2 separate regions of the Homo sapiens genome follow, and region 2 is linked to region 1. Evidence: promoter capture Hi-C in 16 types of primary human blood cells and fetal thymus (Javierre and others, 2016). All regions are on one chromosome and are shown on one strand. Each heading gives the region's core, a stretch centred on a gene start or on the middle of the fragment in contact. The rest is flanking DNA. Distances are from core to core; before and after follow the strand shown.

Region 1 (4,966 bases), core at 1,275-3,774:
CCTCCCAAGTAGCAGGGAATAAAGGCACATGCCACCATGCCCAATTGTTTATAAATTTTTTTGTACAGATGGAGTCTCACTGTATTTTCCAGGCTGTTCTTGAACGCCCAGGCTCAAGTGATTCCCCAACCTCAGCCTCCCAAAGTGCTGAGATTACAGTCATGAACCAATGCACCCAGCCCTGAAAAGGAAATATTTCGAATGGAAATTCAAAGGGAGAACATCTAATGTTCAAGTTGATGTCTATAGAGCAGTTAACGGGAACTATCATTTAGGGTCTGTGGGATTCTAGGACACTAGGTATGAAACAAATATGAGGAAGGTCAGAGAACAAGCTGACTTAATGATTAATGCTGAAGGTGCTGCCAGCTTGGTTTAAGTTTTCCTCCTCCCTTCCTCCCTGATGAATTTGATAAAGTTTAAAGGGATGGTTTCACCAGGGGCCTTTTACATTGACAGCAAGGAGGTCATCCGCCTGGTAAATCCTCAGTAGTCCAAGCCTCTTACATGGCTAGAATGATCCAGTCCATAAGGAAACGTCACCACCCTCTGTGTTTTACAATTAGACCATCCAAGGGGGTCAGGGTTTCCCCAGGGAATTTGGTGGGATTTTTTTTTTTTTGAGACCGTGTCTTGCTGAAGTACAGTAGCCTGATCAAAGCTCACAGCAGCCTCAAACTTTGGGGCTCGAGTAATCCTCCTGCCTCAGGCTCCTGAGTAGCTGAGACTAAGGGTACACACCACCTCTCCAGGCTAATAAAAAAAAAATTATGGAGATGGGAGTGTCTCACTTCACTGCTCAGGGTGGTCTTCAACTTCGGGCTTCAAGTGATCCTCCCACTTTGGCCTCCTAAAATGTTGGGATTGCAGGTGTAAGCCATGGCACCCGGCCTCCCAGGCTGTTGTTGAAAGGTCTTTGCAATCTCTAAGAGTTCTGCAGCAGTTTATTCCCTGACAGTGAGAGTCTCATCCTTTCACCCCATTTTGCAGCAGTAGTTGGGTGTTCACTTTTCTTTCCATAAGGAAGCGAGCTTGCCAGTGACCCTCATCCCCCTCCTCATCGATGACTTCTTTGTCATCAGAGCCTTCCTCTTCATAAATTCCCACGGAATCCAAGTTTTCACGTCCCAAATTATGATAGCCACAGGCCCTCACCAGCTGCCATAGCACCCCATTTCATGGAAGCCACCTGACTCTTCTTTGAGCATCCTGTCCCAGGAGCCCCCATCTGTGCTCTCCCGGGCTCCAGGCCCTAGAGCCGCGCTGCTGCAGAGCCCAGTTCCCAGGGCTGCTCCCTCCACGTATCCACATCCATCTCCAGCTTTCCACCCTTTCTCTGACCAGACAGGCCTGGAGGTGCTGCAGTGTCAGTGACCGTGGGTCCCTCCGCTGCCACCTCCACCGCGATCTGGAAGTCTTTTAAATGTACTTAAGTTATCTTAGAATTTTCCTTCCCCACTTTATACATAAACATAGGAGGAGAGCAGGGACTCTGCTGGTGTCTTATTCACACAATGGGATTGAGGGTGTTTGTGTCATGGAACTGATCAATGGGGTGAGAAGTAGCTGAATAACCTGCAGGGGCAGCAGAGCCCGAGGCCAGTGACTCCACGCTGAGGCCAGTCTGGAGCCTGCAAAGGAAGGGAAAGGAGCTTTTCCTGGGGGCTTCCTGGGCAGCCCGCCCTCCCCTACAGGTGGCCTCCAGCTGCTCAGAGCAGCTCCAGAAGGAGTGTGGATTCCGAGAAGCTGTAGGGCCCTGGAAAGCAGAAGACCTTCGTGCAGACGCATTTGTGGGGTTCTGTCCTTTCTGGTGTTGTACCTCTGGAGCCTGGGGCTGTCTTCTGGGCAGGGTTTGGGGTTTGACATACATGGGGTCGCTGGAGTCAGAGTTATTTGTATATATAAAGAAAATGTGTGAAAATCAGGCTAGAGACACAATTGTTTGGTGGCGTCACCTGGATAAAAGGTTTATGAGGTTGACAGTTTATTTAGGTCCGAAGCTTAACCCCAGGTGAGAGTTTCCTGCAGGTGAAAATGAAGATCTGGAAGGACGGAGCATTTTCATACTGTGAGGAGGGGATGGGGGTGTGTGAGCAAGTCTTGGCCATGCCTCATCCCCAATTCCGGCCCGCTCGAGGAAATATGCCTCTCCTCCTGGTGCAGTCTTGCCTGGCCTGGTCTCGGTTCCCCTGCTGCTCTGAGGCAGGAGATGGCTCCTGTGGACACTGAGTCTGAAATTCCCTGCACACTCCTGTGACCCCGTGCAGAACGAAGGAGCGGGGACAGTCCTTTGAGTGAGGAAGACGCTAGTGTTCTCTTCTAACAATAGCAAGTTTGGCTGAAATGCAACTATCCAATAACCCGAGTGCAGGAAGCAGCTCGTGTAAGCTTAGAGAAGCTGTTGCTAGAATCTGTCAGTCTGGCTCCGCAGGGCCTGATACCCAGGGCTTCCGCTGTCACTTAGACGTGGGGGGCGGGGCCGAACATTCCATCCAATCAGAGGCACTGGCTCGGGGCCCTGCCCACTGTGCATCCAGGCACGGAGGATGTTGCATTCCTGCCGTCACCTTTGTCGCTGCGAGGGCGGCGGTTGGGATCTGGCCTTTCCAGCCCCGAGAGGGACCTAGTGCCTCTACCCAGATTTCTGTCGCTCTGTCACCTGCGCTATGCCCTGCTTTACTCACAGGAGCTGTAGAGAGGACCCCGGTACATCTGAAAGCCGGGAAATGGTGCGTGTGCTGGCCGGGAGTGGTGCGATGGGGGAGGGGCTGCCTGGAACTGGCGGGACCCGGGCCTCCCTGTGGGCGACTCCGGGGTCTGGGACCGAGTCCTCCTAGAGCTGCTCGGCCCTCGGTCCCCGCGGCCGCTGGATGTGGGTGGGCCGGCAGCCGGGACTCCGGGCGTCCTGTCCCGTCCCTGCCCGTCGACTGCGGCCTTGGCCCCGAAGCCCTTTTGTGCAGCTCCGCGCCCGCAGCCCGACGCCCCAGCTTGTGCGGGGGCCACGGGAGGGTCATGCGCGGATTTCGACTCGGGTGTGGATTTCGTCCGTAGGAGGAGCAGCGGTCTGTGGGGCCCACAGCCTCCACTTTCTCCTGTTAAAAATTATACTGAGGTACGTTAACAAAAAGTTCATTTGAGGAAACAGCCATTCACGAATGAGAAACACCCGGTCCTGGCTTGTGGTTTGTCAACGGAAAAAAAACAGACTATGTAAAATACAGAAGTGTATTCAGAGCCGAGTAGGAGAGACCTTGGCCGAGGGAAACACAACCCCAAGCAGCCTGGAGTAAGTGGTCCGGAGGCGGCTCAGGACAGTTTGGTTTTATTCATTTCAGAGAGACAGGAATTGCAGGGAAAATGATGGATCAAGGCTGGAAGGTGTAAATTCCATTGGCAGAAAGGGTGGGACCTGTGGAAGGGGGGTTAGGAGGCACAGGTGGTTGAGGGATTCTGTAGGTGGCAGCTGGTTGAGAGTGTGAAGCTTTGTCTAAAGTTTGGAGGAGGTAGGAAGGAATGCTGAAGGAAGGGGGTCTGTTATCTGCCACTTCATTCCATCCCAGCCAAAAAACAGTCCTGTTTCTCTAGATTTTATGAATTCTAAGACGTAACTTTACCTTTGCCTTGCGTGGCCTTAGGTCTTGTTTGTAATTTGGTATCTTGTTGCCACAAGGAGTCTGTTTTTCCAGTCAGAGAATGTCTGTTTTTACATGAATGTGCGTCAGTTGCTGCATGTAAACTCCTAAAGGGAGAGGGTATAAGGAGACCTGTCTCACCTCCCATCCTGTCATACAGAGGCACTCAATTTTCAGGGTGTTTTGGGGGTTCCCTTGGCCAAGAGCCAGTCACTTCACTTAGCTGGGAAGGTACTTTGTTTGTTTTTGTTTTTGTTTGAGACGGAGTCTCCTTCTGTCGCCCAGGCTGGTGTGCAATGGCTCGATCTCGGCTCACTGCAACCTCTGCCTTCTGGGTTCAAGGGATTCTCCTGCCTCAGCCTCCTGAGTAGCTGGGATTACAGGCACGCACCACCACCCCCAGCTAATTGTTGTATTTTTAGTAGAGATGGGGTTTCACCATGTTGGCCAGGCTGTTCTCAAACTCCTGACCTCAAGTGATCCACCCCCCTCGGCCTCCCAAAGTGCTGGGATTACAGATGTGAGCCACATCGCCATGCCAGAAGATATGTTTTTATTTTTGTTTTACATGTTTAAGGCTAGGCTTTTATAAGGTACATGAGGAGACAAACCAGATAAATGCTTGATTGGTTGCAGAGATGCAGTCGCCTTATTTGGACTTGTCAACCGGAAATAATCAAAAGGTTCAGATTTCAGTTGGAAGAGTTTATTCAAGCAGAAAGATAGCAATGACCAAAACACAGACTCCAGAAAAATGGACTCAGTACTCCAAAATTGGAAGTTATGTTCTTGCTTATATTACTGAAAAAAGAGGTCCTGATCAGACCCCAAGAGAGTTCTTGGATCTCACACAGGAAGGAATTCAAGACGAGTCACAAAGTGCAGTGCGAAGAGAGTTTATTGAAAGCTACTCTGGGCCAGCATGATGGCTTAGGCCTGTAATCCAAGCACTTTGGGAGGCCCAGGCGAGAGGATCACTTGAGCTCAGGAGTTCGAGACCAGCCTGGGCAACTTAGCGAAACCCCGTCTCTTCCAAAAATAAGAAAAATTAGCCGGATGTGGTGGCCTGTGCCTGTAGTCTCAGTTACTCAGGAGGCTGAGGTGGGACAATCACTTGAACCTGGGAGGCAGAGGTTGCAGCCCAGCCGAGGATGCGCCACTGCACTCCAGCCTGGGTAACAGAGTGAGACCCCATCTCAAAAAACAAAAACAAAACAAACAAACAAAAAAGAGTTGAAGACCAACCTGGCCAACACAGCGAGACCCTGTCTCTATTTAAAAAAATAAAAAAGAAGAAGAAGAAGAAAGAAAGCTTCTCTGTTACAGAGTAGGGC
Region 2 (4,966 bases), core at 1,725-4,224, 280 kb after region 1:
CGGTGAGCCAAGATTGCACCACTGTCCTCCAGACTCTGTCTCCAAAAAAAAAAAATTCATATCTCACAAATCAAGGTATTTTCCATATGTCATCACACATAGTTAAGGTTTGGTCAGTCAGTGATTGCTTCTATGTCTGCTGGGACTGGGATTTTTACTCTAGGGAGACTGAAATAAGCTTTTGTGAAGAGAAGCACCCATGACACCTTAAAGGAAATGATCGGATTGTTCCATGCATGACTTTTCCACGATGTCATTAGCTTCATAATATTAGCATAAGAGGGTTCCTGACAAGTTTGCATCAACAGCATGTTACCAGAGAAAGAAAGACTTGATTGGAATAGTGATGCTGACTTTGTTCTTTACTGGGCAGGAAATTCAGTTTTCAAAAACATATTGGCCCCATAGGACTCAAGGTGATTTTTTTAAAAAAGTAGTAGCCAATTGTGGTGGCTCATGTCTGTAATCCCAGAACTTGGGGAGATGGAGACAGAAGAATCACATGATCCAGCAGTCAATGACCAGCCTGGGAAACAGGGAGACTCCATCTCTACAAAAAATAAATAAATAAAATCATAGTATATACCTTGATAAGAAGTGAATTTATAGATTTTAACTGAGGTATGTTATGGTTAACAATGTCCATAAATTGTAGGGAATATATCAGGGTTTAGAGAATAGTATGGTAAAAACTGGTCCAGAAGTCTGATGGCTGGCCTCCCCTCGCCAGAAGGCCGAGTCTTTTGCCCCTGAACAGGCACATGTCATACACCTGCAATGTGAGATGATGCTCTTCAGTGACCATGATGGATCAATACAAAAATAACTAATTCTTGGCAGGGCACAGTGGCTCATGCCTGTAATCCCAGCACTTTGGGAGGCCGAGGCGGGTGGATCACGAAGTCAGGAGATCGAGACCATGGTGAAACCCTGTCTCTACTAAAAATACAAAAAATTAGCCAGGCGCGGTGGCGGGCACCTGTAGTCCCAGTTACTTGGGAGGTTGAGGCAGGAGAATGGCGTGAACCAGGAAGCGGAGCTTGCAATGAGCCGAGATCGAGTCACTGCACTCCAGCCTGGGCGACAGAGCAAGACTCCGTCTCAAAAAAAAAAAAATTAAAATAAAAAAAAACCTCATTCTTTAACCATGTCTTGAAATGTGACAGAAGAAAACACTTTAAATTGCAAACATACCCCAAATTTTTCTCTTCTCACGAAATGTGACTATCTTTTAATATCTCACACATCTCACAGTCATCTATGGCTTTTGGTCATATTCATTACCACAGTATATTATTACACCCTCTTTGACGACACTTATGCCACTGGTGGTCTTTGGTCAGAAGTCACTCATAAGAACATGAGATCACCTTTGGTATTTAGAATAGATGAAAATTCATGATCCAGATAAAAACTAAGAATATAAGCATGAAAAGTAAAATCTACATGAGGAAAAATATGCCTGACATCCACATGGCAACACTGACTCACAGTGACCACCGGATAACATGGTAACATTATCAACTTGATCTAATACATGATGTTAATGGGAGGTTGTAATGTAGCTTCTTCATTAAAAAATAATAATTGTTAGTATGCAGTTGTTATAAACAGTTAATAAGCTTATTTCTAAAATACATGAACAGAAGTATTTGTTGCCAAGAAACCGCATTAGTGTTTTTAGTCAGGTATACTCATACAAAGTTAAAAACGAAGTGAGACATTACATTCAGTTGTGAATAACAGCAAATGCTTGAAATTTCCTGATAAGAGCAAGGTGGCTCTTCTCACATAAAAGCCCTTGGTGAGACCAATCACTGCACAATGCAGCAGAGGAACAAGCTCCCATCTAGTTGGTTTAATCAAGAACAGGCTCGCTAATCCGTAGAAACAACAATGCTTGCAATACAAAGTAGACCTCTTAAACCAACTCAATCTATAGAAGAGTTGGGCATCAGTGAGTATTTCCAGCCATAACAACATTTATTAGTTCTCTGGTAAACATTTTAACATTTCTGAAGAAACAGCAAAGTGGGCATGTATCTTTAATGTGGAGCACTGGGGACATATCTGGAGACCTACAACTCTGAGGAACAGAGACAAGTGATTTGGGGGATATTCTCGATTAACAAGCCAAAGAATCAGGAAAATGGGCTGGAAGCGGGTAGCCACACACCTCTCTCCCTGTGTGGGGCCTCTAATATGTGACTGATGCCTTCCTTTTCTGTGCCTTTGAAATCTCATGCAAGATTGGCTATAGGTGAATTGTATTACGAAACCATCCAAGTTCTTCTAGATTTTATTGTCCTATCGCAAGTCTCTCTTCTCAATTCAAAAAGCAGTTATCCAGAGGTTCTTTCACCACTCTCTTTTCTTGTGTTTCAAAGGAAGTGGGACAACAGAAAGCTTCTCCCGTTGCTTCCACTAAAAGGATTTCTCATCTATTAATGGTATGAGTTCTTTCATGTTCTCGACATGAACTGGCACGAATAAAGGCTTTGCCACATTGCTTGCATTGATAGGGTTTCTCTCCAGTGTGAGTCCTTTCATGATATCGAATGTAATTGGAAATAAAGGCCTTACCACAGTGCTTACATTCATAGGGTTTCTCTCCAGTGTGAGTCCTTTCATGATATCGAATGGAACTGGAACAAGTGAAGGCTTTGCCACATACCTTACACTCATATGGCTTATCTCCAGTGTGTGTCCTTTCATGTATATGCAAGGAAGAGAAATACCTGAATGCTTTTCCACATTGCTTACATTCATGGGGCTTCTCTCCAGTGTGCGTCCTTTCATGTATACGCAAGGAAGAAAAATACTTGAATACTTTTCCACATTCCTTACATTCATGGGGTTTCTCTCCACTGTGCGTCCTTTCATGAATTTGAAGTTGTGAAGCACATCTAAAGCCTTTCCCACACTGCTTACATCCATAGGGTTTATCCTCAGTGTGTGTCTTTTCATGCCTTTGAAGGTCCGAGGTACATCTGAAGGCTTTACCACATTGCCTACATTCATAGGGTTTCTCTCCAGTGTGAGTCCTTCCATGCTTTTGAAGGTGTGAGCCACATCTAAAGGCTTTCCCACACTGCTTACATTCATAGGGTTTCTCTCCAGTGTGAGTCATCTTATGATACTGAATGGAACTGAAAGAAATGAAGACTTTCCCACATTGCTTACACTCATAGGGTTTTTCTCCAGTGTGAGACCTTTTATGTCTACGAATTTCACTAGGAAAACTGAATGCATTCCCACATTCTTTACATTCATCGGCATTCACTCCTGTGTGAGTTCTTTCATGTACTGGAAGGGTAGTGGAACGAGTAAAGGCCTTACCACATTGTTTACACTTATATGGTTTCACACCAGTGTGAATTCGTTCATGGATAAGACATAAATTGAGAAAATAGAAGGCTTTCCCACAAAACTTACATTTATAAGGTCCATCTCCACTGTGCATTACCCTGTGTCTTTGAATGCATGAATGGGAAATGAAGGTTTCTGTACATTCTTTACCATCATAGGGTTTCTCTTTAGTGCAAGCTTTATCATGTGATTGAAAGGAGTCAAGATAACTGAAGGCTTTCTTACATTCCTTATTTCTATATGGATTCTCTCCATATTCCTGATACTCAGATGACTTGTGTCCAGTGTCAGCTCTGATATGCGTATTAAGAGATGAATGACCCGTGCCAACTTCTCCACACACACTGCTTTCACATGGTGTTATTCCAGGAAGAGTTTTCCTGTTCAGCATGTCATCTGCAATCTGGTTGAAGCTTTCTCCACAGTGATGACTTTCTTTACTTTCACAGAGTTTCTCTCTCATAAGACTTCAGTGAAAAATGAGAAGCACATTATTAACGGTTTGATTAAAAGTGACTTATAGGGCCGGGCACAGTGGCTCACTCCTGTAATCCCAGCACTTTGGGAGGCTGAGGTGGGCAGATCACCTGAGGTCAGGAGTTTGAGACCATCCTGGCCAACATGGTGAAACCCCGTCTCTACTAAAAATGCAAAAATTAGCTGGGCGTGGTGGCAGGTGCCTGTAATCCCAGCTACTCGGGAGCCTGAGTTGGGAGAATCGCCTGAACCCCAGAGGCAGAGGTTGCAGTGAGCTGAGATTGCGCCATTGTGCTCTAGCCTGGGTGACAAGGGCGAAACTCTGTCTCAAAAAAAAATAAAAAAATAAAAAAGTGATCTATATTGGCTGGGTATGGTGGGTCACGCCTGTAATCCCAGCACCATGGGAGGTTGAGGCGGGCAGATGGCTTGAGGCCAGGAGTTTGAGATCAGCCTGGCCAACATGGCGAAACCCTGTCTCTACTAAAAATACAAAAATTGGCTAGGTGTGACGGCGTGCGCTTGTAATCCCAACTACTTGGGATGCTAAGGCACGAGAATACCTCGAACCCAAGCAGTGGCAGTTGCAGTGAGCTAAAACCACACCACTCCACTCCCGCCTGGGTGACACAGCGAGACTCTTGTCTCAAAAAAGAAGAAAAAAACATGATTTATATCATTAACAACTATTGCACTTGCATTGTTAACACTGCCCGGCAAAGTGTCAGCTTTCTGCTCTGTCTGAATCATTTGAATATTAATGGACTATATGCTCTACAAGATGGTCTGGGTATATATATTTTTTTAAAATTAGTATTTCTATGGGGCTTTGTAATCCTATTTTCAAGTAAACTATTTTACAAATACTAAACATGTGCGTCTTTTTTTTTGAGTTGGGGTCTCAACTCACCCTGTTGTCCAAATTGGAGTGTAGTGGTACCAACATGGCTCACTGCAGCCTCAAACTCCTGGCCTCCAGCAATCCTTTGGTCTGAAAGCCCCAAAGGACTGGCATTTGGGGGTATGCGCAACAGTGCCCAGCCCAGCGTATGTTACATTTAAACATATGTTTTTAGGAAAACTTTCTATGAATACATAAATTTGATACTGGGCTTATTTC

What was found. Contacts are between HindIII fragments. The CHiCAGO score rates a contact against its expected background, and 5 or more counts as called.
Region 2: a contact is called between a fragment that was not itself captured here and the fragment with the promoter of ZNF439 in region 1, in 1 of 17 cell types (total CD4 T cells). The highest score is 5.1, in total CD4 T cells.

Annotation. Positions count from the first base shown.
Region 1 is chr19:11,846,202-11,851,167 of GRCh38, forward strand. ZNF439 (zinc finger protein 439) reads left to right here and starts at 2,525. Exons shown (of 4, transcript NM_001348719.2): 1 at 2,525-2,729. The coding sequence starts at 2,667. The HindIII fragment of the contact is 1,093 bases long and covers 2,387-3,479 here.
Region 2 is chr19:12,130,150-12,135,115 of GRCh38, forward strand. ZNF20 (zinc finger protein 20) reads right to left here. Exons shown (of 4, transcript NM_021143.4): 4 at 1,201-3,836. The coding sequence ends at 2,438. It overlaps ZNF625-ZNF20 (ZNF625-ZNF20 readthrough (NMD candidate)), which reads right to left. Exons shown (of 8, transcript NR_037802.1): 8 at 1,201-3,836. Among named protein-coding and RNA genes, the nearest start is that of ZNF20, 7.7 kb to the right of the region's middle. The HindIII fragment of the contact is 1,140 bases long and covers 2,405-3,544 here.